Linked DNA regions of Homo sapiens: all the other regions are linked to region 7. The links are contacts of gene promoters, found by promoter capture Hi-C in blood cells and fetal thymus (Javierre and others, 2016). All regions are on one chromosome and are shown on one strand. The core of a region is centred on a gene start or on the middle of the fragment in contact, and the rest is flanking DNA. Distances in the headings are between cores, read along the strand shown. Region 1 overlaps SLC39A11 (solute carrier family 39 member 11). Region 2 overlaps SLC39A11 (solute carrier family 39 member 11). Region 3 overlaps SLC39A11 (solute carrier family 39 member 11). Region 4 overlaps SLC39A11 (solute carrier family 39 member 11). Region 5 overlaps SLC39A11 (solute carrier family 39 member 11). Region 6 overlaps SLC39A11 (solute carrier family 39 member 11). Region 7 holds the start of SSTR2 (somatostatin receptor 2).

Evidence for each region. The method cuts DNA at HindIII sites, captures the fragments that hold promoters and counts their contacts. A CHiCAGO score of 5 or more calls a contact.
Region 1: a contact is called between a fragment that was not itself captured here and the fragment with the promoter of SSTR2 in region 7, in 1 of 17 cell types (erythroblasts). The highest score is 5.4, in erythroblasts.
Region 2: a fragment that was not itself captured here is called in contact with the fragment with the promoter of SSTR2 in region 7 in 1 of 17 cell types (M0 macrophages); the score reaches 5.3 in M0 macrophages.
Region 3: a fragment that was not itself captured here is called in contact with the fragment with the promoter of SSTR2 in region 7 in 4 of 17 cell types (total CD8 T cells, megakaryocytes, non-activated CD4 T cells and 1 more); the score reaches 5.4 in total CD8 T cells.
Region 4: a contact is called between a fragment that was not itself captured here and the fragment with the promoter of SSTR2 in region 7, in 1 of 17 cell types (fetal thymus). The highest score is 5.1, in fetal thymus.
Region 5: a contact is called between a fragment that was not itself captured here and the fragment with the promoter of SSTR2 in region 7, in 4 of 17 cell types (endothelial precursors, megakaryocytes, erythroblasts and 1 more). The highest score is 7.2, in endothelial precursors.
Region 6: a fragment that was not itself captured here is called in contact with the fragment with the promoter of SSTR2 in region 7 in 17 of 17 cell types (erythroblasts, endothelial precursors, naive CD4 T cells and 14 more); the score reaches 23.8 in erythroblasts.

What each region holds. Positions count from the first base shown.
Region 1 is chr17:72,808,684-72,812,314 of GRCh38, forward strand. The region is part of intron 6 of SLC39A11 (solute carrier family 39 member 11); the gene reads right to left. Among named protein-coding and RNA genes, the nearest start is that of LINC00511, 170 kb to the left of the region's middle. The HindIII fragment of the contact is 1,233 bases long and covers 1,521-2,753 here.
Region 2 is chr17:72,790,736-72,794,323 of GRCh38, forward strand. The region is part of intron 6 of SLC39A11 (solute carrier family 39 member 11); the gene reads right to left. Among named protein-coding and RNA genes, the nearest start is that of LINC00511, 150 kb to the left of the region's middle. The HindIII fragment of the contact is 3,076 bases long and covers 175-3,250 here.
Region 3 is chr17:72,701,530-72,705,533 of GRCh38, forward strand. All of the region lies in intron 7 of SLC39A11 (solute carrier family 39 member 11), which reads right to left. Among named protein-coding and RNA genes, the nearest start is that of LINC00511, 63 kb to the left of the region's middle. The HindIII fragment of the contact is 7,138 bases long and covers 1-4,004 here.
Region 4 is chr17:72,676,693-72,680,676 of GRCh38, forward strand. All of the region lies in intron 7 of SLC39A11 (solute carrier family 39 member 11), which reads right to left. Among named protein-coding and RNA genes, the nearest start is that of LINC00511, 38 kb to the left of the region's middle. The HindIII fragment of the contact is 156 bases long and covers 1,284-1,439 here.
Region 5 is chr17:72,748,177-72,751,950 of GRCh38, forward strand. The region is part of intron 6 of SLC39A11 (solute carrier family 39 member 11); the gene reads right to left. Among named protein-coding and RNA genes, the nearest start is that of LINC00511, 110 kb to the left of the region's middle. The HindIII fragment of the contact is 2,059 bases long and covers 1,103-3,161 here.
Region 6 is chr17:72,722,851-72,726,705 of GRCh38, forward strand. The region is part of intron 7 of SLC39A11 (solute carrier family 39 member 11); the gene reads right to left. Among named protein-coding and RNA genes, the nearest start is that of LINC00511, 84 kb to the left of the region's middle. RefSeq lists an enhancer at 2,691-2,760 and a silencer at 2,811-2,880. The HindIII fragment of the contact is 904 bases long and covers 1,520-2,423 here.
Region 7 is chr17:73,162,847-73,166,538 of GRCh38, forward strand. SSTR2 (somatostatin receptor 2) reads left to right here and starts at 2,164. Exons shown (of 2, transcript NM_001050.3): 1 at 2,164-2,442. It also overlaps the pseudogene POLR3KP2. RefSeq lists an enhancer at 1,289-1,538 and a silencer at 2,079-2,418. The HindIII fragment of the contact is 15,303 bases long and covers 1-3,692 here.

The sequences.
Region 1 (3,631 bases), core at 887-3,386, 350 kb before region 7:
TGTAGAACCTAAGATTGGTCTTTTGAGATGTTTTTCAGACTTTTGCATTCTGGCACCTGACTGACCCCACCTGGATCTGTGATTCCTAAGCAATCCTGTCCTGTGGCTCCCACCCAGAGTCGGACTCAGCACATGAGGACTCTTCCACACCTCTATGATTTCATCCCCAACCAATCAGCAGCATGCATTCCCAAGCCCCCTGCCCAACAAATTATCCATAAAAATCCTAGCCTTTAACTTCTGAGGGAGGCAGATTTGAGTAATAAACTGTCTTCTCTTTCCACTTGGCTGTCCTTATGTTAATTAAACTCTTTCTCTACTGAAACAACATTATCTCAGTGGATTGGATTTATCTGTGCTGTGGGCAAGAAGAACATGTTGGGTGGTTACAGTTTGGAGATTATTTCTCTAAGATCCTGCAGCAGAGTCCAGCAGTCTTTTCCTCTCTTCCCCGGAGGATATAATCTTGGTTTCACTATTCCCAATTTCGGCTTAGATCATCTTCTTTCTTTTCTTTCTCTCTCTCTCTCTCTCTCTCTCTCTCTTTCTTTCTGCCCTCTCAGGCCCACCTTCTCCTGGGATTCACTTTCTCCAGATACCTCTCTTGGTTCATTTATCTGGATAACAAATTTTTCTCCTGCCGTGGTACAGGAGCGGCAATTGTTCTGTTATTTGGTGTGGGATGAGCTCTAAGGATTCCTGATACAGATCACAACCAACCATCCTGTTTGCGATCCCATCTCTACTCCAAGTTTGGAGCCTCAGGATCTCGACACTTCCTAGGGTTTATGCAGGACATTTCAGCTTGCTTCTTCGTGGCTTCCCTTTTGCAATCACCTGGACTCCATCTTTCTCTACTCTTTGTCCATTTCTGCATCCATGGTTCAAATATCTGAGGACCTCTCATCACTCATCACATCTTGGAGTAACAGTATGGCATTAAAAAGGTATGTCCAAAAGAGAGAGACTCTTACTTTCATTTTAACGGTATTTTAGGAAGCAGCAGAAATGCATGTGTTAAAATCTGCCACATTTAAACAAGGTCTGCTTAACTATCCCAAGCCTCAGATTTTGTTTGTTTGTTTGTTTAATTGAAAACGAAGAGTTTGGGCGTGGTGGCTCACACCTGTAATCCCAGCACTTTAGGAGGCTGAGGTGGGCAGATCACTTGAGGTCAGGAGTTTGAGACCAGCCTGGCCAACATGAAGAAACCTCGTCTCTACTAAAAATACAAAAACTAGCCAGGCGTGGGCACCTATAATCCCAGCTACTTGGGAGGCTGAGGCAGGAGAATTGCTTGAACCCAGGAGGCAGAAGTTGCAATAAGCTGAGATTATGCCACTGCACTCCAGCCTGGGTGAAAGAATGAGACTCTGTCTCAAAAACAAAAACAAAAACAACAAAAAAAAAAAAAAAGAAAAGAAAATGAAGAAAACTCTAGTAATAATAATACTTGAATACTCTCTTAAGAAAATATCTTTCCCCAATTCTCAAATAGTACTTACTGGTTTACCTATTAAAGCTTAACACATGCTTATGCTATGACCCAACAATTCTACCCCTAGGTACATATACAAGAAAAATGAGTGTGTGTTCATCAAAACACAAATACAAAACACTCATTGTGGTTTTTCTCCTAATAGCCCAAACTGGAAACACCCAAGCATCCATTCACAGAAGAATGGACAAATAGTAGCATATAAATACAATAGAATACTGCATAGTAAAAAACATGTAATCAACTATTGCAATGCACACAGACGAACCTCAGAGATGTCACATTAAGCAAAAGAAGCTGGCTACAGAACAGAATGTGCAGTATGATTCCATTTAAATGATATTCCAGAGCAGGTGGAACCTATCTATGGTAAAAAGAATTAGAATACTAATTATCTCTTAGAGGAAATTACTGCTTAGGAAGAGCTATCAGGAATGCTTCTGAGTTGCTAGGGTATTTTGTATCATGATCTCAATAGTGGTTATATGGGATATACATATGTAAAAATTCTTTTTTTTTTTTAAGACAAAGTCTCACTCTGTTGCCCAGGCTGGAGTGCAGTGGCATGATCTTGGCTCACTACAATCTCCACCTCCCAGTTTCAAGCGATTCTCCTGCCTCAGCCTCTTGAGTAGCTGGGATTATAGGTGCACACCACTACATCCGGCTAATTTTTGTATTTTTAGTAGAAAAAGAGTTTCACCATGTTGGCTGGGCTGGTCTCAAACCAGCCTGGTCTTGACCTCAGGTGATCTGCCTGCCTTGGCCTCCCAAAATGCTGGGATTACAGGCGTGAGCCACCATGCCTGGCCCGTAAAAATTCTTTAAGTTGTATATTTAAGATTTGTTTTACTGTATATATGTTAAAACTTGATTTGAATAAAAGCAAAAAAAAAAAAACATTGTTTAGACTGCTATAACAAAATACCTGAGCAGCTTACAAACAACAATTGTTTGTTTCTCACAGTTCTTGAGGCTGGGAAGTCCAAATTCATGGCACCAGCAGATTCATTGTCTGGGAGGGTGCATTTTCTGAGTGTCAGACTGCCAACTTCTTCCTGTATCCTCACATGGTAGAAAGGGTCAGGCAACTCTATGGGGCCTCTCTTTTAAGGGCACTAATCCAGTCTCTAGGGCCCCACCATTATGACCTAATTACCTCCTGACAGCCCCACCTCCTAACCATCACATTGGAAACTGGGTATTTTGGGGGTACAAACATTCAGGCCATGGCAATCACTGTTTATAATTTTAAAGCTTTGTGGAAAAATAGTTTTCCAGGGTAAAAGTTCTACCTAATCAGAAATCCACCTGGATCTCAGAAGGGAGAGGCTGGGCATCTTTGCCTGTCAGAGATGCAGTAACTGAGATGCTGTATCTAAAATGCATAGCTTAGTCTTTCTTCTCCCTGTTCTACTATCAGTGGTGTGCTCTTTGAGGAGTCACACTTTCTGTGAGCTTCAATTTCCTCTTACAACAAAGAGGTGAACTATATTATCTTTCAGGTTCATCCAAATTCTAAAATTCTTTGTCCACTTGGGAAAAGTTTGTTGGTTTTGTTTTTTATTTAACAAAAATATTCTCTTTCCTCCCTTTCAACCAGACACATGATTTCTCTGCTCTTAATCCTCCTACTACTGACCAGATGATAAGGGAACCACATCACCAATGTCTTTTATACTCAACTAGCTTAGTGCAATGAATATAACACATGCTATTAGATGAGAATGTAACTTTGCCATAAAAATAGTGAATCTAAAGCAAAGCCTTATATTTATAAAGTGATGAAATTGCATCCACAATAAAAAATCCTATCAGCAAAGCTGTGTAACAATACAAGGCTTTGGAGAGAGTTATTTCTACCAATGAACTTAGTGAATCACTAAATAAACTGTCTTTTTGTCTCCCCCACAAAAACTTGGCCTTAGTATAAATGATATTATATTTTCTCTGGCCAGAAAAATAAGAAAAAATAAGATACTATTATGCTTGGAGAGAAAGCTGCTCCCCAAGGTCATGTTAGTGTAACCAGAGATCCTTTCGGAGGGAAGACAAGCATCTGGGCAGTCAACCTGATGGGCTGGCAAACTTTATCCGTTAGTAGATTTTCTCCCAGGGTCAGCTTTAAGAATC
Region 2 (3,588 bases), core at 463-2,962, 370 kb before region 7:
TTGGCCAGGCTGGTCTCAAACTCTTGACCTCAAGTGATCCGCCTGCCTCGGCCTCCCAAAGTGCTGGGATTACAGGTGTAAGCCACCACACCCAGCCAAAAACAATGAATTTCTTGAATTTGCATCACATTTACATGTACAGTTAGTGGGACCCTGAGCAGAAGGAAGAAGGAAAGCTTCAAGGCAAATGGTGAGGCCAATCCATGTAGCAACTTAGCCACGTTGAAGACAAATCCCCAGCTCCCTCACCTGCAGATATTTACACGAATCCAGTGGTTCTCAAAGTGGAGGCCTCAGATCAGCAGCATCGGCATTGCCTAGAGACTTAGAAATACTAATTCTCAGGTCCCATTTCAGACCTACTAAATTAGACATTCTCAGGGTGGGACACAGCAAAGTTCTCCAGGTGATTCTGATGCATGTTAAGTTTGAGAACCGGCTGGGCACAGTGGCTCATGCCTGGATTCCCAACACTTCGGGAGGCCGAGGTGGGCAGATTGCTTGAGGTTGGGAGTTTGAGACCAGCCTGGCCAACATGGTAAAACCCTGTCTCTACAAAAATACAAAAATTAGCCGAGCGTGGTGGTGCACACCATGTCCCAGCTACTCAGGAGGCTGAGGCAGGAGAATCGCTTGAACCTGGGAGGCAGAGATTGCAGTGAGCTGAGATAGTGTCACTGCACTCCAGACTGGGTGACAGAAAGAAACTCTGTCTCAAAACAAACAAACAAAGGAAAAAGTTTGACAGCCACTGCACTAAGACAAAAATAGCAAATTGCAATCACAAATACTTCCACAGTGCTTCCTGTGTGTAGGCACTGTTTTAAGTCTTTATAGACATTATTTCATTCAATGCTCATGGCAAACCTGTGATAAAGGTACTGATATAGTGTGGCTCTGTGTCCCCACCCAAATCTCATCTTGAATTGTAATCCCCATGTGTTGGGGGAGGGAGCTCGTGAGAGGTGATTAGATCATGGAGACAGTCCCCCCATGCTGTTCTCATGATAGCAAGTGAGTTCTCACAAGATCTGATGGTTTTATAAGGGGCTTTTCGCCCTTTTGCTCGGCACTTCTCTCTCCTGCTGCCATGCGAAGAAGGACATGTTGGCTTCCCCTTCCACCATGATTGTAAGTTTCCTGAGGCCTCCCCAACCCTGCAGATCTGTGAGTCAGTTAAACCTCTTTCCTTTATAAATTACCCAGTCTCGGGCAGTTCTTTATAGTGGCATGAGAATGGATTAACACATGTAGTATGATAACTTCTCATTTCTCAGAGAAGAAAATCGAGGCACAGAGGGTTAGGTCATTTTCACAAGTTGTTCTGACCCCCTTTAGTCACTGCAGTGGTGAGGGAGACATCCCTCACCTTAAATAGTATGAAAATAGTGTGAGACAGCTGAACATATGACAAGCAATGCTGCACAGACTAGTGACATAACTCAGAAGAGGAGAACATCGCAGGCCATGTGGGGCCACTCAAAGGTTGCACACAGTGAACCAGAAGGGGCTGTGCAAGGCAGGTTCTGTAGTGACAAGAGGGTGAGGTGACCCTTAGTTCCCGCAGGAGGATGTGGCTGGCTTGTTTGAAGAATTCTGCTGGCAGGCAGTGAGGTAGAACCCAGAAAGTTGAGGACTGGGCTGGGTGCAGTTGGTCTGGTTGATGTGGAACTACCTAGGTGGGGAGCCTTTCCTACTGGGTGGGAAGAAATCTAGCCAGAGCCAGGGAACTCGCAGCTAAGTCTTTGAGGTTTTGTGAGGCTCCAAGGTGTCAAGGAAGCACATGAAATTTCAGGCCTTAGAAAGTATGAGAGAGGAGGTGATAGAGCTAGCATTTGAACCCAAGCTCCTGTGCTCCAGAGTCCACGCTCTAGTTTTAAATCACAGTTCTATCCTGTCTCCCACTGTCTTTAATCAAGGCACACTGCACACCTCTGTAAGAACTGCCATGATCCCTCCTGGGTCAATATGCAGGCCAGGTCGCGGAGGCTGTGGGAGGTTAAGGTCAGGGGTCTTCCCCCACTGACTTAAATGCTCCTTTATATGGGGGTTGCATCTCCTTCACCAGCTCCTCCACACACCCCACTGGAAATTAATAAGGACATAAACACTGCCCATTGTGCGCAGCATGCACAAACACATTCATTCACTAGCATATGGCACTGACTCTTTTTGCAGAGACTATGTTAGGACCAGACACACAAAGATAACATCAAAACAAGGCTCAGGATGCTCCCTACTGCCGGCGGGGTGGGGGCGAGGGACAAAAATACAAACAGAGCATTTCGGGCAAATTACAAAAGGCTTTATATTCATTCCCAAGGTGTTTGGACTGCATCCTGGAGGCTCTGGTCAGTCAACAGAGGCCTGTAAGTCAGGGAGTGAGGAGCAGATTTGCCATTTTAGGAAGATAATTCTGGGGGATGGTGTGGGAAAAGCTAGAATGAGGATGGGCTTATGGCAAAGCACCAGACAAAGGCTATTGTACACCCTGAGACAGAGAAGCAGGATGATCAAAGAAGAGAGGCAGGGTCACAGATTCCCAGGGTGCCATGCAACAAGGGTGACAGACAGGTTTTGGCTGGCACATCTTAAGTCCTAGAGCTGAGAAAGCATTCTCCAGTTAGCCACAGACCCCACCCCTCCCTACTGTCTTTTATTAGCTGACTTGCTGTGTTTACATGAATTGCCTGGTACCCTAAGGTGTTTATGTTTGAAAGGGAGAGATTTTCTTTCTTTCATACAATGTATAACATGTGATGGCAGATTGGATTGCGTGGAATAGAGAAATAGACAGGGAGGAAAAGGACTAAGGGTACCAGATTTCTAGCTTTTAAGAGGGAAATGCTTCTTTTTTTAATTTTTTTTTAAAAACACAGAGATGGGGTCTCGCTATGTTACCCAGGCTGGTCTCAAACTCCTGGCCTCAAGCAATATTCCTGCCTCAGCCTCCCAAAGTGTTGGGATTACAGGCGTGAGCTGCCACACCCAGTCTGGAAAATGCCTCTTGATGTGCACATCGTTCTATCTGAATTAATGGAATACAGTGCCCAGAAAGGAAATGAATAACAATGATCAACAAATTCTGCTTCTCTAAGATTAAGGCTAGGGGAGTGTACCTTGGCAGTTGCAGAACCTGACTCCTGTATCCTTTCTCCCCCTTCACAGCAAGGCTGGGTTACAAATGACACAGCTGATACCACACCGGCCAGTATACAGAGAAGAACAAAGAGTCTTCAGGTTGAAAGAAAGCTTGAGGGACCCATAGTCCTGCCTCTAACTGTAATAACAGCCTTCAAAATCTAGGCCATTGTTAGCATCAGGCTCTGCCTGAGGTTTGTGGCATTCTCCTGAGAGAAGCTTTACCCATCCTGAGAAAATGAGATTTTGCACCTTGGAGCTGATGGGAACGCCTGGGAACAGTCACTGTACACAGCTCACAATGGGTCCCAGCACCTGCTCTCACCTAGAAAGGAAATTCAGAAGCTCCTGCTCATCACCATCACACAGTCCATGAGTACAAATCACCCATCATAAGAAAGGAGCTTGCTGGAGAAAAGGCAGCAAAGCCTTGGAGAATACAGCAGA
Region 3 (4,004 bases), core at 181-2,680, 460 kb before region 7:
CCAGCCTGGCCAACATGGTGAAACCCTGTCTCTACTAAAAATACAAAAATTAGCCAGGTGTGGTGGTGCATGCCTGTAGTCCCAGCTACTGGGGAGGCTGAAGCACAAGAATTGCTTGAACCTGGGAGGCGGAGGTTGCAGGGAGCCGAGGTTGTACCACTGTACTCCAGCCTGGGAGACAGAGGGAGATTCTGTCTCAAAAAAAAAAAAAAAAAAAGAAAAAGAGAAAGAAAGAAAGAGAAAGAAAAGGAAGGAAGGAAGGAAAAGAAAAAAAAAAAGAACATAGACACGCAGAGTGTGGTGGCTCACGCCTGTAATCTCAGCACTGTGGGAAGCTGAGGTGGAAGGACTGTTTGAGCCCAGAAGTTAAGTTTGAGACCAGCCTGGGTGATATAAAGAGACCCCATCTCTATAGAATGTTTAAAAATTAGCCAGCTGTGGTGGTGCCTGCCTGTAGTCCTGGCTACTCAGGAGGCTGAGGTGGGAAGATTGCCTGAGCCTGGGAGATGGAGGCTGCAGTGAGCTGTGATCACACCACTGCACTCCAGCCTAGGTAATGGAGTGAGACTCTGTCTCCATAAAATAAAATAAAAAAGAACATAGACATTTCTCAGGGTGGACAGATCACTAACCTTGGATATACCAATCCACATGCTCTCATAAACTCGCAAGCTAACCCTATCTTCCTGTGTTCTACTGAGTCCAAAGATAGGAGGCTACTGTTTTTTTCTTTAGGCAGCACCTAGCACAGTGGCTGGCACATAGTAGGCCTTCAAGTGCTTGAAGCATGTACTACCTAGGGTGGTGGTCTCAACCAGGCCAATTTGGACCCCTAGGGAACAGTGGGCAATGTCTGCAGACATTTTTGGTTGTCACAACTAGGGGGAAGGCATCTAGTGGGAAGAGGCTAATGCACAGGGCACCCCCCGCCTACAACAAAGAATTATCTACCAGATGATCAACAGTGCCAAGTTCTAGAGACCGACGGTCTTCCACTCTACCAAATGAGTCATCAAAGTACACGACAGTGCCAAGTTCTAGCAGTCATATTTGCACAAAAGCAGGAAGGGTCCATGGGAGAGTATGGGAATTCCTCTTTTCCAGGGAATTTTAAGAGTGGATTCCAGCCAGGCATGGTGGCTCACAAATGTAATCCCAACACTTTGGGAGGCTGAGGCGGGTGGATCACTTGAGGTCAGGAGTTCCAGACCAGCTTGGCCAACACGGTGAAACTCCGTCTCTACTAAAAATACAAAAATTAGCCAGGTGTGGTGGTGCATGCCTGTAATTCCAGCTACTCAGGAGGCTGAGGCAGGAGAATCGCTTGAACCCTGGAGGTGGAGGTTGCAGTGAGCCAAGATCACGCCACTGCACTCCAGCCTGGGTGACAGAGTGAGACTCCATCTCACCAAAAAAAAAAAAAAATGGAAGAAAGGAAAAAAAAAATTGATTCCCTCTGTCTTTGTGGGGTTGGGAGTCAGAAAGAAAGAAGACATAAATGGGCTGCCTGATCTCCTAAGCTCCCTTACCGCCCCATCACCAGACACCAGAGCTGTCGGTTGGCAGGTCTTCATCTGTCTGCCTCTTCCTCCCACTTGGGTTTATTTTATAGGCTTTTCCTGAGATATTAGGGGGTTTCCATCAGGAGTGGATCCCTTCCAAACCACAAGGCAATGAAAAGTCCTGCATGTGGGACTGATGTGCTGGTGTGTATGTGCTTTAGGAGCGAGAAAGACAGCAACATAAACCCTGTGCATCAAAGCCAAATCCCTCTACACTCAAGTTCCAACTTGCAGAAATTTTTATAGCCAAGTAATGATATGCAAAGCTGATGGCCTTTTAATTATAGCAGTTCCGTGTGGGGAGAAATAGGAGAACTATTATAATAAGGAGACACAGTAAGCAAAAGAACACCTTTGAATGGGCATTTTCTTGCTGGGGTAAAGGTAACATGGGGGGTTGGGGGGCGATACCCCACAGGGTTCCAAGCATGTCACCCACATTCTTTGTCTTGACAATATGCCCGTGAAACACACAGAGTAAGGTTTCCTGCCCCCACTTTTCTGATGATCTGTTTCTCCATGGCCAAACTGAAGTCCAGACAGATTCAGTCCTTAAATCCATTTTGGAAAACTGTTAACATCCATGGCCAACCAAGATCAACTCAGAGTTTTCAGAAACCAAGAACCTGAATGAACATAGGAGATGTTTAGCTATCTTCTATCTCAGTGTCTCTTTGGGAGAGGCTTAGAAATTAATTTCTCTGTTTGATGATCCCTAAACAGAGGAACCCACCTCAAAATAAGACAAACTGTTGGCCGGGGGTGGTGGCTCATGCCTGTAATCCCAGCACTTCGGGAGGCCGAGGTGGGTGAATCCTTTGAAGCCAGGAGTTCAAGACCAGCCTGGCCAACATGGTGAAACCCCATCTCTACTAAAAATACAAAAATTAGCCGGGCATGGTGGCATGCGCCTGTAGTCTCAGCTACTTGGGAGGCTGAGCCATGAGAACCACTCGAACCTGGGAGGTGGAGGTTGCAGTGAGCTGCGATCATGCCACTGTACTCTAGCCTGGACGACGGAGTGAGACTCTTTCCAAAACAACAACAACTATTATTTTTACCAGAGCATACCTGCTATTTGCCCAAACACTGTATGGAGCATTTTAGACATATCAACTTGCTAGTTCATGTAATCTTCTTATGGGAGATAAACTATTATCATCCCTCACTGACAGATGAGGAAACCAAGGTACAGAGATCTCGATTCACTTGTTCAAGACTATGTAGCTAGTAAATCGCAGCACCTCGATTTGGACCTAGGAAGTCTGACTTCAGGGTCCTTGCTCTAATGTGGTGCTAGGCTCCCTTTCTGGAGAACAGCTCCCCAGTTTTCCCATCATTTAGATTAAAGAAGTCAAAGATGCGGCTAGATTCACTGGTCCTAAGGAATAACAGTAAAGATGAGGATGTATGTTGACAAATCCCTTTTATTTGATACGCTTTTCAGTGGGTCCTGCAAGGCCCTGAATTTTATGGTAGACTCTATGCATAAAGTGATGCTGTCCCTCAAAAAAGCCAAAGCGCCATCTGTGTGCATTTTATCCACAAACCAATGGAATCAACCATGAAGGACCAGGGGTATGAAGGTCCCCTCTCATACCTTAGCATGACCTGGCAGTTCCCTGGGGGGTCCTCTTCCCCTCTCAGTCCATGTGGTTTAGCTGGAGCTCCAGTCCAAGCTCTAGGGATAAACTGTGACCCTACCCTGAACAATGGGTGCAACTCCATCTCTCTAGCCACAGTGATTGGTCCAAGAGGGAGTAAGTGGCCCAAGTTGGTCTATTAGGATTCCAAGGGAGCTATTGAGAGGAGACGGTCTATTTTGTTTGGACTTGAACCTGGGAGGATATAGGGCTGGAGTCATTAGCAGGAAGCCATCTTAACACCATTAGAAATGGGCAATCATGCCTATGCTGAAGAGAGCAGAGCTGAGGGAGAGAAAAAATAAGCAGAGACCTGATGATATAATTTGAGCCTCTGGACCAAACTGTGCCTGAAACCAGCATCCCAGACTCTTCAGGTCCATGAACCAGTAAATTCTCTTTTTAGTTTAGGACAATATGAATTGTGTTTCTGTGTCTTGCAAATGATATAAATGAAAACTAGAAACATGTCATTAAAGGAGACGCAAAAGTACACTATAATGATACTTTTATAGTGAAGACAGTGGGGAAAAGGCGGTTATCAAGGTCCTGCTCCCTCTCCCCCAACCTTTATCTTAAAGGAGAATGTAAACTTTTGTAGAACATGAGGAATGTGGTTGAATTTATATGTTCCATATTAATAAGTACAGCTGATTGCAACTATTATCAGTAATTTCATAGAATTGGTTCCTGTGTAAGTTATTTACCCAGCTGCATCAATTCTCTCATCCACAGCCACAATGTACCCTTGACACCAGCTGGCCACTTGTAACGATGGGATCTGGGTGACAGGCTGGAT
Region 4 (3,984 bases), core at 112-2,611, 490 kb before region 7:
TGCTGTACCTAAACAGTTTGTGCAACTAATATTGCTTACGTCAAATGCTCGCTTCACTTATGGAAGTCTAGACTTTTGGTATACGTTAGGCAGAGGGTGCCTATGTGACCAGTACCCTCAATAAAATCTCGGGCACTGGTTCTCGAATGAGCTTCTCTGGTCGACAGTATTGTGCGTGTGCCGTCCCACCTCACTGTTGGAGGAGTGAAGCCCATCTGGTGTAACTCCCCTGGAAGAAGATTCTTAGAAACTTGTGCTGGTGGTTTCCGGACTTTTCCCTGGGTACCTTTTTTCTTTGCTGCTTTTGCTTTGTAGCTTCTCACTAGAATACATCTCAGCTGTGACTATGTGCTGAGTCTTGTGAGTCCTTGTAAAATCACCAAACCTGGGTGCCTTGGGTAGCCACTGCACAAGCAGCAGCCGCAGTGGCTGAGGGTGGTGTCAGGTGGCTGGACCTAAGGGAAGCCTCTCTCAGAACCCATCACATCCTAGCACTGTGGATGGAAGGCAGCCAGCATTCCTGACCCTAGTGGGGTGGGAGTTGCAGGGCTGGGGTTGGAAGAGGCTAAGTACATAAAATCCAGGGCCAAAGATGACAGTGGGAACACAGGGACCAGCAAAAGAGGCACACAGGAGGCCATGGCCAACACCAGCTGGGCCCTGCTACATCACAGCAGATGCTGCAAGGAGAAAGGCCAACATCTGGTCAGATGCCACTCCTTTCGGGTCAGGAGATGGGACATTCTGAGAACCCAGATCTCCTTTAGGAAAAAAGAGAAGAGGGTGGGAGAATCTCAAATTGAATGCATCTGTAACCTGAACTGAGCAAATTTAAAGCCGGAAGTGACGCGGCCATCTTTAAATGGCATGTTTTTAACATCAGGGCAAATGAGGGTTTGTGAGTGAGGTTCACCAAGAGCAGTGGTTCTCAAACCCGAGTGTGCATCCGAATCACCTGGAGGGTTTGTTAAAGCACAGACCGTGGGCCCCTCCCCGGCAGGCATAGTATCCAGGAACACTTGGGGTATTGGGAAAATGAAGCTAGAAAGACTCCCTCAATTTTGGTCCTCCTCCCTAGAGAATTACTAGAACACAGCAGAGTAGAGGGCCAGGAATTGCAAGTAGAGGGCAGGATAAAGAAAATGTGGTACATTTACACAATGCGGGAGGGAGAGAAGGCTACCGACGGCCTTTCCCCTGATACTCAAGGTCGTCTTGGAAACAACGTCACCACCTACAAGCCCATCCAGTGCTCCCGTGTTCTCCTCTTAGTTTGAATACCAAGCTTAACCTGGCAGGAGCGCCCTTTCCCTTGAGGATCTCGGAAGACAGTCAAATGCATTCATCAACTAATATCCCACAAACAGAAGCAGAGGGTCCATGTTTCAATGGCATTTTGGGCATACAAAAAATTTATAACTTTCCTGAGCTCACAGCAAAGCTTCCCATAAAGGGCTGCCATAAATGGCAGTTTGGATGCCCGTTCCGCTCACAAAAGCCCATTTAACTCAAGTGTGCATAGTTTATAAGTATTTAAGTGCCTTGTGGGTTATGTAAAGCTTGTGGGGGAGTTCAGGAACTGAATCACCATTTACAACGTGTTTTTTTTCCCCCACTGTGGGAAAATACCTTCCCTGTGAACAGCGAGAAGGAGGGTACTAAAGAAATGTGTAAGAGATGGAAATGTGGAGGCTGGAGGGATGTTCTCCTTGCTTTGAAACTCCAAGAACATGGCCAGGCACGGTGGCTCACATCTGTAATCCTAGCACTTTGGGAGGCCGAGGCGGGCAGATCACAAGGTCAGGAGTTTAAGACTAGCCTGGCCAACATGGTGAAACTCCGTCTCTACTAAAAATACAAAAATTAGCCCGGCATGGTGGCGTGCGCCTGTAATCCCAGCTACTCGGGAGGCTGAGGCAGGAGAATTGCTTGAACCCAGGAGGCAAAGGTTGTAGTGAGCCGAGATTGCGCCACTGCACTCCAGCCTGGACGAGAAAAAAAAAAGAGAGAAACTCCAAGAGCATGCCTCATGCTCTTGGGGTAGCAATCATGAAGCAGTTTAGGGATTCATCGATTCACAAATAATTTCTGAGCTCCTAATCTCTCAGAGACGACATCCAGGGTGCAACAAAGAATAGTGCTTGAGGCTGTTCACAAGAGCCAAGACAGGGAGTCAACCTGTGTTCATCAAGAGAAAAATGGATAAAGAAAATGTGGTACATTTACACAATGGAATACTATTCAGCCATAAAAAGAATGAGATCGTGTCATCTGCAGCAACACGGATGGAACTGGAGGCCATTATGTTAAGTGAAATAGGCCAGGCACAGAAAGACAATGGTTGCACATTCTCACTCATAGGTGGGAGCTACAAAAGTTGATCTCATGCTGGTAGAGTAGAATGGTGGCTACCAGAGGCTGGGGAGGGAAGAGAGGAGAAGAGTGATCAAGAGGTGGGTTAAGGGGTACAGTAAGAATACAGTAAGATGGAAGGATCACATTCTAGTATTTGACAGTATAGTAGGGAAATTATAGTTAACAGTAATTTATTGTATGCTTCAAAATAGGTAGAAGAGAAGAATTGTAATGTTCCCAGTACAAAGAAAAGATAAACGTTTGCTGTGATGGGTATCTCAGTTAATCTGATTTGATCATTACACAGTGTCTACAGGTATGCTAAAAATATAGACAACAATTACCTATCAATTAAAAATAAAATAAAAGAATAGTGCTTGAATCCCTGTCCTCTGGCTGCTCAGAGTCTGAGATGCGCAGACACAGAGAAAGGCACTAACCCCCCAGGGAACCTGTTCTGCAGGAGGAAGGCAGCAGCTATTGGAACTTGAATAGAGACAGCCGCGCCCACCTCGGGCTTCTTCAAGGGCTCCTGGAGGAAGCTGGCCAGGTAAGGAGTTGAAGACCCACTGGAGGCAAAGGGGCCAACGTGTGTAGAGACATGTTGCAGGAGGTATTGATCTTGATTGGGCTGGGTGGCAGGTGGAGGATGGCCTGGTGGGAGGTGGGCTTAGAGGACACGTTAAGGATTTGTTAAAGAATTGTGGTAAAATTGGCTGGGCACGGTGGCTCACGCCTGTAATCCCAGCACTTTGGGAGGCCAAGGTGGGCGGATCACGAGGCCAAGAGATCGAGACCATCCTGGCCAACATGGTGAAACCCTGTCTCTACCAAAAATACAAAAATTAGCTGGGCGTGGTGGCGCATGCCTGTAGTCCCAGCTACTTGGGAGGCTGAGGCAGGAAAATCACATGAACCTGGGAGGCAGAGGTTGCAGTGAGCCAAGATCGAGCTACTGCACTCCAGCCTGGGCGACAGAGTGAGACTCTGTCTCAAAAAAAAAAAAAAAAAAAAAAAAAAAAAGAATTGTGGTAAAATTAATATAACATAGAACTCAGCATTTTAACCATTTATGAGGTGTACATTTCAGTGGTATTTAGTGTATATTCACAGTGTTGTGCAACCATCACCACAATCTAGTTCCAGAACATTTTTATCACCCAAAAGCAAATGCTATACCCATTAGCAGTCACTCCCCACCCCTACCGCCCTCAGCTCCTGGCAACTATGACTCTGCTTCTGTCTCTATGGATCTGCCCACTCAGGACAGCACATGAATATGATACGGTTTGGCTGTGTCTCCACCCAAATCTCATCTTGAATTGTAGCTCCCATAATTCCCATATGTCACGGAAGGGACCTGGTGGGAAGTAATTGAATCATGGGGGTAGGTCTTTCCCATGCTGTTCTCATGATAGTGAATAAGTCTCATGAGATCTGATGGTTTTATAAAGGGCAGTTTCCCCACACACACTCTCTTGCTGCTGCCATGTAAGACATGATTTTGCTCCTCATTTGCCTTCCGCCATGATTGTGAGGCCTCCCCAGCCATGTGGAACTGTGAGTCCATTAAACCTCTTTCTTCTATAAATTACCCAATGTCAGGTATGTCTGTATTAGTAGTGTGAG
Region 5 (3,774 bases), core at 882-3,381, 410 kb before region 7:
CTGGGCGTGGTGGTGGGAGCCTGTAGTCCCAGCTACTTGGGAGGGTTAGGCTGGAGAATCGCTTGAACACGGGAGGTGGAGGTTGCAGTGAGCCGAGATCGCGCCATTGCCCTCCAGCCTGGGCAATAGAGGGAGACTCCATCTCAAAAAAAAAAAATTCTTATCAATAAAGTCACATCCTATTGTTTATTAAGAAATATTGACAATTGAAGATACTCTAACATGAATCCCCTTTGTAACTAAAATAACTACTTCCTAATTAATGTTGACAAGTGTGCTTTTTTGGCATATCCGATTGTTTCACGTTGGGATCCCTCTGAACAGTGACAGACCCAGAAAATGCTATTCTCCAGTCATGGCTGCCGACTTAGAGTTGAGCCTGACTCCAGCAGACTGCGAAGACACAGGCAGCGCCTCGTTTGTATGACTGAAGACAGCCACATCTTCAAACAACAGGTGAAGGCATCTGGTTAAACACCCACATCTCGGAGTCAATTTCAATTTGCTTTAGTTCTCAATAACCAGACAAAGATCAGATCTCTGTGTTTCCTCAGAGAAAAAGGGAGAGAATGCCTATACTGGCATTGAAGATTCCGAGCTGTTCCAACTAACGAGCTCCGTGTCATGCCCAGATGCATGCCTCTAGCCAACTCCCCTGACCTTGCACCATGGTCGTCCACACCTGGGTTTGCCCTGAATCTGAAGAAGTATATCTGCAGGCCCAAGGACAGACCAAGTACGGGAGAGGGGCCAGAAAGGGCACCGCAGTCTACCCTCCGGGCCTCTTTCTGCCGAGCTGAGCACACACAGTTGTTGGTTTTTATTTATTTATTTAATGAATAATTGCTTATAACCAAGGGAGTTGTTAGTTTTGAGGTCAAGGGACTAAGCAGAAGCAAAGAGGCAGGTGAGGTAGGTTCTGACTCAGTGGGGGAACCTGCCGTCAGAAGAGCTGCCATCTTGGAAGACACAAAAACTCAAGATTCCCTCTGCTTTGCCCAGCAGGGAATTATCATGAAATCCCTGTGCCCTTTGAGTGGGGAGGGCTGCTATCTGTTGCTCCCAAACACTCTGTTCCACCAATGAAGCCGTGGTGTAGAAAAGCTTGCAACCCGGTAGCAAAGTTCCTTGACTCTGAAGTCAGAGCCTCATCAATCACCTGGCCACTGGGCTTCCTCTCCCTACGTCCAAAGTCCACGGCAGGCAGGGAAGTGTCTGGATCTGACAGATTCACTGTATGAAAGTGGACAGGCTTATGTTCTGGGGAACCTTGTATATTCACAACAAAGTTGTCTGGGAGGCTTAGAAAGCAGGGACAACCTAAGCAGCTCTGTAAATATGAGGACACAGGACGAAGGAAGCATGAGGCAATGAGTAGTGTGGTCAGACGGGAATTATTTTTCCCAAGACAAGCCTATTTTGTGATAAGTGGGCCCTGGGCAGCAGAGGTGGGCAGGCTCTCTGGTCCCCTTGGGAAACCGGGGCTGCAGATGGAGGCTTTGCTAAGTGCCACCCCACCCTAGACAGTGGGAGCAGTCCCCAGCCCCACACTGCACACCGAAGGCAGGAGGTCTCTAATCACTGGTCACAGGGATCTCTCTGCTTGATCCTAGGAAAATGCTGCCTCTGAGGTGGGTAGACCATTCCAGGAGGAAGAGGGGAAAGCATGGCTGAAAGCACCTCTATGACTCCAGGCTCAGATTCGTAAAACACTAGATGGAAGTCGTACCAGGAATTCAGCCACACATCCCTCCTGGCTGGGAAGGCCTGCAGCTGAGAGCACACGCACAAAGAGACACAGGCTCCATTGGCCCAGCCTCTCACCTGGCTCATGAAAAGATCAATGCCAGGAGTTCTCCACAAAGAGACTGGGGATTCCTGGGGCAAGGCACAAGCCAGATGGGTCGAGGAATCAGGTGAACCTCTGCAGCAGGTGGGTGGCGCCCATTCTGTGCCCCTTGGGAGCCAAGAGAGTCACCCTGGGAATTATCCCACAAGAGGGTCTCACATCCCCAGGAAGTGGATGGCCACTGATCCCTGCTATTCCTCCCCCAAGTTCACATGAAGAGGTCGTGCAGTCTGGGTCCCAGGTTGGACCCGATTGCCTTGTCAAAGGGAAAGGCAGCCTAGGGCCAGATACCTCGGAACCACAACCACATCGCCTGTGATTGGAGCCTCACCCCATCCCACAGGCCGTACATGGGCATCATGAACTCTAGCACACACTTGACTATGGAATACCTCTGGAGGTGGGGTGGGGGGTGGGGAGGACTTATTTATGTTTTTGTAATTTGCATGTTCTTGAGGGCCTAAAAAAACTGGAGGAAAGGATTTTTTTTTTTTAATTCCCTTGGAGGACTTTCGAACAAAATTAGACTCTGGCAGTTCCTTCAGGATGATGAATAACCTAAGATACAGGTTCATTTATCACTCCCCACATGTGATTCCCACCAAAGTATTTCTAAAATCCAGGCAAGAAAAAGATTCTGAAGTCTCAGATCACTAGTATGTTTTGCTACATGGAGGGCAGGCATCATACCACAACGTATGTATCCAAGGGAGGGAGGGGCATTTTTTCCTACAAGCAGAAGTATTTCAATTGTTAATGGAGGAAAAAAAAAAACTGCCTTCCTTACACATCCCAGTTCAGCAATTGTCAGGCTTCAGGTGTCAGACGGCAGCCTGTCAGCGCCCTGGGATAGGCCCCGTGTGGTCATGGCCTTGTTGGTCATGCCAAGATGATGTCTGAGAAGCTGGCATTATGGCTTAGCTCAAAGAGAAGGCAGGAGGCTGTGCATGGTGGCTCACACCTATAATCCCAGCACTTTGGGAGGCCAAGGCGGGAGGATCACCTGAGGTCAGGAGTTCAAGATCAGCCTGGCCAACATGGCAAAAACCCCGCCTCTACTAAAAATACAAAAATTAGACGAGCGTGGTGGTGGGCGCTTGTAATCCCAGCTATTTGGGAGGCTGAGGAATGAGAATCACTTGAGCCCAGAAGGCAGAGGCTGCAGTGAGCCAAGATCACACCACTGTACTCCAGCCTGGGCGACAGAGTGAGACTCCATCTCAAAACAAAAAAGTGAGCGTACAATATTGGTGTGCTAACATATGATTATATAATCAGGTTGCTATATGAAGGTAAGGAAAAACAATCCTAAAGCTTCAAACTCTTCCCATTTGAAGAAGACAGTTCTAAGAATCGTGGCCCCCATCCTCTCATCGTCTAGGTTTTAATTAGGTTCTTTCCTTCCTTCCTCCCTTTCTTATTACCATTTTTAATTGTGATAAAATGTGAATGAATAACATGTAATTGAGCATCTTCCTCATTTTTAAGTGTACATTCATTGGCATTAAGTGCAATCACTTTTGTACAGCCATCGCCACCACCCATCTCCAGAGCTCTTTGGTTTTTTTTTGAGACAGAGTCTTGCTCCGTCGCCCAGGCTGGAGTGCAATGGCATGATCTCAGCTCACTGCAATCTTCGCCTCCTGGATTCAAGTGATTCTTGTACCTCAGTGATCCCAGTAGCTGGGAGTACAGCCATGCATCACTATGCCCGGCTAATTTTGTAATTTTGGTAGAGACAGGGTTTTGTTATGTCAGCCAGGCTGGTCTCGAACCCCTGGCCTCGAGTGATCTGCCTGCCTTGGCTTCCCAGAGTGCTGGGATTACAGGTATGAGCCACTGCACCCGGCTCCAGAGCTCTTTTTATCTTGCATAATTGAAACTCTCCACCCACTGAACCCAGATCCCCATTCCTCCTCCTCCCT
Region 6 (3,855 bases), core at 722-3,221, 440 kb before region 7:
GTCTGTATCTCCTGACCTCAAGTGATCCACCAGCCTCGACCTCCCAAAGTGCTGGGATTACAGGCATGAGCCACTGCACCTGGCTGCACTTTCTAGAAGGGTGATCTCTCATAAAATAATTCACTGACCATGGCGGTCTACGATTGCATCTTTCCTTCAATGCCTTCACTTTGAAAAATATAAAGGGTGGCCGTCGTTTGTCAGTCTTTACATATTTGGGGGACGTCTTCATTGTCCAACAAAGCCCAACAGTCTCATAGCCATGGATACAATCTGCCTTTCTCACATGATGCACGTAGAAACTGAGGCACATACAGTAAGGGCCGAGTGCTCAGTCAGGTTGTCAGGTGCTTGTCAGGTGAAGTCCCAGATGCTTCATAGAGAGATGTCACCAGGAGGACAGAGTGCTGAAATGAGCACGTGTCTTAAAATCCCTCCCAGGATTTTCTTTGTCTTTGTAGGAGTGTAAGAGTGTGTGTGTGTGTGTGTGTGTGTGTGTGTGTTTGCAGCCTAGCTGTCAGGAGGTCTGGATTAGAGAATTTCTCCATCCTTCAAAGGAAAACCATCTTTCAGAGTAAGTAGTAGCAGGAAGAGATGGATGACAGTAACTGGATTTGTAATACCAGTGAGGCCAACCCCAAACACACACAACCATCACCCTACATGTGGATTGTCTGTGCTAGGAGAAGAAAGTACAGGCGTGAAGAGTGCTAACTTCAGAACACCCCAAAATCAACTAGATTTTTCTTTTTGCCATTTTTGAGGTGATACATTTACTTTTCGAATGACTTCCGTTGAATAATGTTATTTGTTCCATCAGTCCTGGGGAGTGAAGAAAGTGGGTCGTAAAAGTCTGCCAGACACAGACGAAGCCAGACCAAGATGGAACCTTGTGGGCAATCTCAGGTTAGCAGGTAATCAGATCATTCACCCATCTGTCCATCTGTTTATCCAATTCAACCCAGAGATTCACAAGCACCAGGCTCCATGATGGCATATTTTGCAGGCAAATGGCTATTAAGTTCTTCATTCTCCTCCACGTGTTCTGGAAAATCACCAGGTTTCCAGGTAACGACGGGATTGTATTTGTCAGCACAGAACTGGGGATGTGGAGGACAAAGTCTCCAAGGAGTAGTTCTTCTTCCCTGGTAGGATTTCTCAGTCAAAGAAAAATCTTAGACGTGCAACTATTGGGCGATCAGTGGTGCTAACACGGGAACACACATCTTACTGGCAAAACACTGTCCCTTTTATTTTTTTTTTTCTGTAAAACGTTGCTCTTATTGGGAGCTTGAAAAGCATTATCATAAAAAGCCATGGGAAGGGAGAAGGGGAGAGGAAAGAGAGGGACAGAGGGGGATAAGAATTGCCCAGGTTTGGACAAGGACTCTGGAGATGAGGCCCAAGATGATTCATTTCTCCCTGTTCGCTTCCCAGCCCTCAATCCCATCTGGCTCCTTTCATTTGAGTTTTCTATTGCAATGCACAAAACAGATAATTTTCCAAAAGCTTGCTCAAAAGCTTCCAGGTGGTCCAAGAATGGGAGGGGCACTTCTTGCAGTTCAAATGGGACAAGAGAAAAAACATCAAGAAAGCGGTGGGGGGGAGTGAGCTTCAGAGGGGAAGCTGAGACAATGAGGAAAGCAGACCTTTTGAGACATCCTGGATGTTCCCTCCACCCTCTGAAATGGAAACATGACCAGCTACAGACAGATCAGCTCTTAGAGGGGAGGAAAGAGCCCCAGGGTTCAGGAACCAGGAGCTCTGACTTGAGTCATCCCTGATGACTTCCTTTTCCACTCTGAGACTTCAGTTTCTTCACTTATAACATTAGAGACTTGGGCTAGATCAGGGATTTTCTGCCAAGTGCAGAGGGGAACTTTCATGGAAAGGGTGGTATCTATTCCATCCAGAGTGTTCGCTTAGGAACTTGTTCCAAAAGCTCAACTGCTAAAAAAAAAAAAAATACTTAAGAGGCAAGATGATCTTTCAAAGTCATGTCCAGCCCACCAGTCCTACAAATTCAAGCCTGTTTTCCCAGTTGCAGTTGATGAAATAACTATTCTAAGTTCTCTCTCTCCAAAAAGATGAATCCTGTGCTCAGTGAATCTCTGTGGATTGAAGGGATGGATGGATGGACAGACTGATGAATGACTTGATGGCAAATTACATAGGATGGTGAGAACCTGTTTGATCCTGGTCTGGCTTTGCCCATGCATCCGGTGGACTTCCTTGGCCTGGCCCACTTTCTTCACTTCCCAGAACGCATGCAATAAATAACATTATGTTTTTAAGTCACTAGAAAAGTAAATGTCACCCTCTCCCCTCCAAATGGCAAAAAGAAAAACTGAACTGATTTTTGGGTGTCTGGAAGTGAGGACTTTTCGCACCTCTATGCTCCCCTGCTAGGGTAGACCATCAAAAGCTTGGAGTAGCTTCTGACACTTTAATTGGCCCATTTCACATTTCTACCCCTCTACGTAGGGTCACATAAAAGCTATACTTTTATTCCCAACATGGGAAAATAAGACAATAACGAGCTTTATAAATGCTTAATTAAATGGGGGGTGAAAAATCAGGGTATAACAGCCAGAATATAAGGATGTTACTATTTTGAAAAATATCCAAAGCAAAGTTGGACATGTCCAAAGTTACATGTAACTTACATATATGGTCCTTAGCCTTCTGCAGATACACCTTCTGTACAAGCCGAACATAGATTTGGATAGCGACACACAGTCACCTTTCCTGGTCAAACTTTTTCCTTCTGGTACTGTGTCTAGCAACCTATGCTACCAAGCTACCGCGTGGTGGCGCCGTCTGTCCACCGCTGCCAGCCGGCACTTTCAAATTCCACTGTCTCTTTGTAAGGTGAGGCTGTGTAGTGTGGCAGGATGAGCCAGGAAAACTGAAGAGAAGGAGCTGCCAATAGATCACTCTAGAATTCCAGACAGGGTAGTGTGATAGGTTCAAGAGAAGAGCTTGCCTGCATAAAATAAAATTGAGAGCACAATGTGCGATTGCAGATAAAGAATAGAACAGGATTGTGCCGAAGTGACTCAAGGGTGGGAGGGGCATTTTTCTGCTGTGAAAGGGTGGGGACAGTGGGATCAAGATGTCAAAGTATTTTCTCCACAAGTACCTTAGTGTCCTCAGGCTGGGTCTCCAATTCTCAGGCTAAAAGCCACTCTCCAGGGAGACCAGGCTGGGAATGCTGAGACCCAAGTTGCTAGGCAGGGAGGAGGTTAAGATCAGCAACTTTGAGGAAGTAAGGGTCTCCCTAGGATGCTCCACGAGTCTGGGAGACTGAGTGCTGCCTGGGGCAGGTCTAGGCATTGCAAGAGCAGCTGCATGGAGGCTTGGAGGGAGCCAGTGAAGACAGCTTGCTTGTTCAAAGATGTTAGAGTGAACTATAATTAAAATGTTTCCATGTGAGTTCTCCGAGACTCCTCCCCGCCACAACAATGAAGTCTCCTTTGTAACTTCTCTACAGGTAACCTGCAAGCATGCTTTCAATAATCTACAGGATGCACACCTGGAGTCCCAGCTACTTGGGAGGCTGAGGAGGGAGGATTATTTGAGCCCAGGAGGTCAAGGCTGCAGCAAGCTATGATTGTGCCACTGCACTGCGGCCTGAGCAACAGAACAAGATCCTGTCTACACACACACACAAACACACACACACACAATCTACTGGAGCAAAAGTAGAGGGGCTGCTTGGACAGGTAGACACACATGTAACGTATCTTACACATACAGACATGCTCATCTACTAGCTAATGTTGATGAATGACCAGGAAAATATGTCAAAATATGCCACTTTTCTTTCTAAATAAAGGGTTGCTTTGTTAACTA
Region 7 (3,692 bases), core at 914-3,413:
ACATCAATGACTTCATCCATTCGGACTGGCAGATAGGCCACATTTCCTGACACCCTGTCTCTTCACCTTAAAAGGGTTAGCTTTCCACCACACCAGCAAAGACCCTCAGGACACACGATTCATATTCCCAGCTGAGCATCTACCCGGAGGTAAGCAGACGCTCAGGCACCTGGGCCGTCCTTGCCCTAATCCCTCCAGTGGTGTCCACACTGAGTCCTGCAGCACTGGTAGAAGGTGGTCTTCGGCTCATCTGCAGAGTGGGTCTGAAGCTACATGTAGTAAGCACAAGGAGGTTCTCATTGAGGACATGGCTCTGCAGTAGAGTCAACATCCTCCCAGGCAGCTGCTCCCCCAAGCCCATCATCCACTTCTTTCAGCTTTGAGTACTTCCAATTTGTTACCTTGTGGGTGAAGTGCACACAGAGGCACGTGTTGCAGGCGAGGGAGTGGCAGCGGCAGCGCTGTCCCTCCTCCACGATCAGCCCATCCCTGCAGCCAGGGTAGAACAGCAGCATCATCTCGGACTCTGCTGGCTCCAGTTATTATTTTTTTTAATGAAACGTAAATCTGGTATTAACAGTTTGAGAACTTTTAGGAAAGGAATTTGAGGGCAGAGTGGGCACTTCCTGGCTCTTCCTTCTTTTCCTGGAAACCAGTCAGATTACTGGTTTTAAACTGGAGGTGGCAACAGGCATTGTAGCAACTGTGTGGCCAGAGGATGCCGAGTTCCCCTGAGCACAATTCCACGATGCCCTCCTGATATTACTATTACCTCTCTGCCTCTCCCTCTTCCCACTGACGGTGAGCAGACACAGCCCTCTTCCAGTGAGCTAGCCACCCCAGCCCTTCCACTTGCATACACATGTCTAAAAGAGATGCTGGCTCCCAGATTGACTCCTGGAACTTAAGGCAATTGCAGCTCAATTTCCATCTCACCCTGAGCTCCAGGATGCCAAGATTTAAGCCCTATCATGACCAACGTCTCAGAGAGAGATGGAAACTCCTGATCCCCATCTCACAGTGGGTACCCCAAGATACAGCTTGGCCCAGATAGAAGAGAGAGCTGGCTGCTGCTGTACCTGGTGGTTGCTTTTCCATGTCACTCATCTATCTCTAAGGCTCACCCCACCTGCCACACAGCTTCTGGACTTTTACTTTTCCCTGGTGAATTGGAAATCAGATAATAGGATGGACAAATCAAGGCAGCTCAGCTCACAGAGAAAGCTAGTTGGGGTTTGCTTTCTGTTTTCACATCCTCTAAAACTGTACTGAGGATGGTGTGTGTGTGTGTGTGTGTGTGTGTGTGTGTGTATACCTATGTACTTGGAGGAGGGTGAGGAAGGGGAGGCTGCAGGATTGATTATGACTTATTAAACTATTGGAAAAGAGGCTGAATCATCACAGTCAAAAATAAACAGCTGCAACTCCATGCGACTCCCACTTCTTGCCTGCTCCCCTTTGCTCCCTCACAGCATGTAGGAGAGACTGTGCTGGGTCAGACCAGCAGGTGCTGACTGACGTGGCTACAGCAAGGGGACCACCTGTATGGCCGCTGCACCTCCAAGCTGTGGGACGCAGGGACAGCTGGGACCAGTCGACGTCCACTGGCCCTCTGATGGCTCCTAGGACTGAATCTTGGACTCCAGGTGCGGGTTTACACTCCCTGCGCTCATTGGGAACTGCATGGAGAAGCGCTATCCCCTGAGCCCTTTTTCTCCCTACTCTTAGCCTGGCCCTGCGCCCTGCGCCCGGGGCTGGCCCACGGTAAACACAGCTTTGCTAACTTGTTTGGCTAAGGAAATCACAGAGGTCCCGGTATAAGTCTGGGTCACCCCGGCCGCCACTCCAGCTGCCTAGAATATATGGGTGGAAGGGAATCGACTCTGTGAAATCAGAGGGAAAATAGCGCTTGTCCTTGCCATGAGTCTTGAGGAGACCGAAAACGCTTAACCTTTTACGCCCCCGCAGGCGGGTCCCCTCTCTCCCCGCTCCCCGGCTGTCTGTAAGCTCTGCCTGCGGCCACCCGCAGGCGTTTCAGCCGGTCTCACCCCTGTCCTTCTGCAGGACCCGGGAGGAGGGGTTGGGGGGGCGGAGCGAAGCCGCTGTGACGTAGCGGGAGGGGGGCGTGGGGAAATGTGCCGAGGGGCCCGGGCTGGCTGGGCCAGTCCCAGCGGCGCAGCCACCCATGCGCGCGCGCTCGCAAGACCACCAGCGCCCAGAGCCCCAGTCTGAGGCTTGGCGCCGGGGGTCTGCGGGCGAGGGGAGCTCTCTACGTGCGAGGGGCTAGCGGGAGCCGGCACAAGAGGGTCGAGGAGCCAGGAACCCCAAACGTCCGGCGCCAGGCGCTAGCCAAGCTGCTGCGCGCCCCGGCGCCCAGCTGGCTCGGGGACAGCCGCTGGGTGTCGGAGACCGGAGCTAGCGGATTGCAGCGGAAAAGCAAAGGTGAGGGGTGTGTGTGTGTGTGTGTGTGTGTGTGTGTGTGTGTGTGTGATAAGAGAGATGGAGGGAGCGAGAAGCGCACTTGGGCACCTGTGTGCATCTGCGCTGATGGTGGTGTGCCCATCCGAGTGCCTGAGCTTAGGTCCCGGTGCGTGATTCTCCGCTCTTGTGCCTTTTGGGGTGATTGTAGTAGGAATGAACGACAACGGGTACCCTTGCCTGAGTAAGGGGGCTGTGGGTAGAGTGTGCTGGAACGGACGTGTCCTCGCAGCCTCATGCCCGTGTGCGTGGCGTGTGCCCTTTAGCCCGAGATTTCAGGTAGCTGCGACGGGTGACAACTTCTCTCCCAGCCCCCTACAAAAGAGACCTGGCGCGAGGGGAGCGAGGCCGTGAGATGCCAGCTGGGGCTCCTGCGGGAGCGCACCCGGAGATCCGAGCCTGCCAGAGGCAGGCGGCGGGCGCAGAGCGGAGAAAGAGGGGCTTCTCTCCCTAGACGCTGAACGATCTAGGATCCGTCCCCGTCCCCCACCTCGGGACAGAAAGGACAGTTTGTCTAGGTTTGGAGAGAAAAAACCACTGCATAGGCCGTGCCCAAAAGCCGCTGGCCAAGTCCCCCAAGCGACTGTCTTCTGCGCCCCGATGTCTCTGTCCTCAGCGCCCCCCCCCCACACCCGGCACCCCTGCTGTGCGTTTCGATACTGGGCGTGCTGGCGCCACAATCTCCGCTCTTGCCTCGTCTTCCTGGAAATGGCACAGAGTTCTTTGGGAAACCCTTGCTCTGAGGATCAGCGAGTTGGATGGCCAGGAGGAGGACTTTCTGTGCCAGCCGGGAGCAACCGGCTCCGCGGTCCTGACACTCGCCCCTCCATTTCTCAACCCCGTAGGCCAGCACCGCCCCGGCTTTTCCCAGGCGCTCACGCGCCGCGGTGGCCCTCAGGGGCTTTTGTCACCCTGCCAGTGGGGGCTCTCGCTCTAGCCGCACAGAGACCAAGCCGGGTTCTGCAGGCCCTGAGGGAGGCGGGGGGTGGGAAGTGAATGCGGGAAACATGATGGGGAGAGGAGAAACTGAAGCTGAGTAGGATTTAGGACCTCCCCTGATGTCGGGTCGCCATCCCAACACTCATTTCTTGGGCTGGTAATCACAGCCCCTATGTAAAAGGGGGGCGGGGGGGGCAGGTGCGTGAGACCATTCTCACCCTCCTCTCTACAGAGCCTGGACATGGTTCAGAGGAAACCAACCACTAGCCATTTCC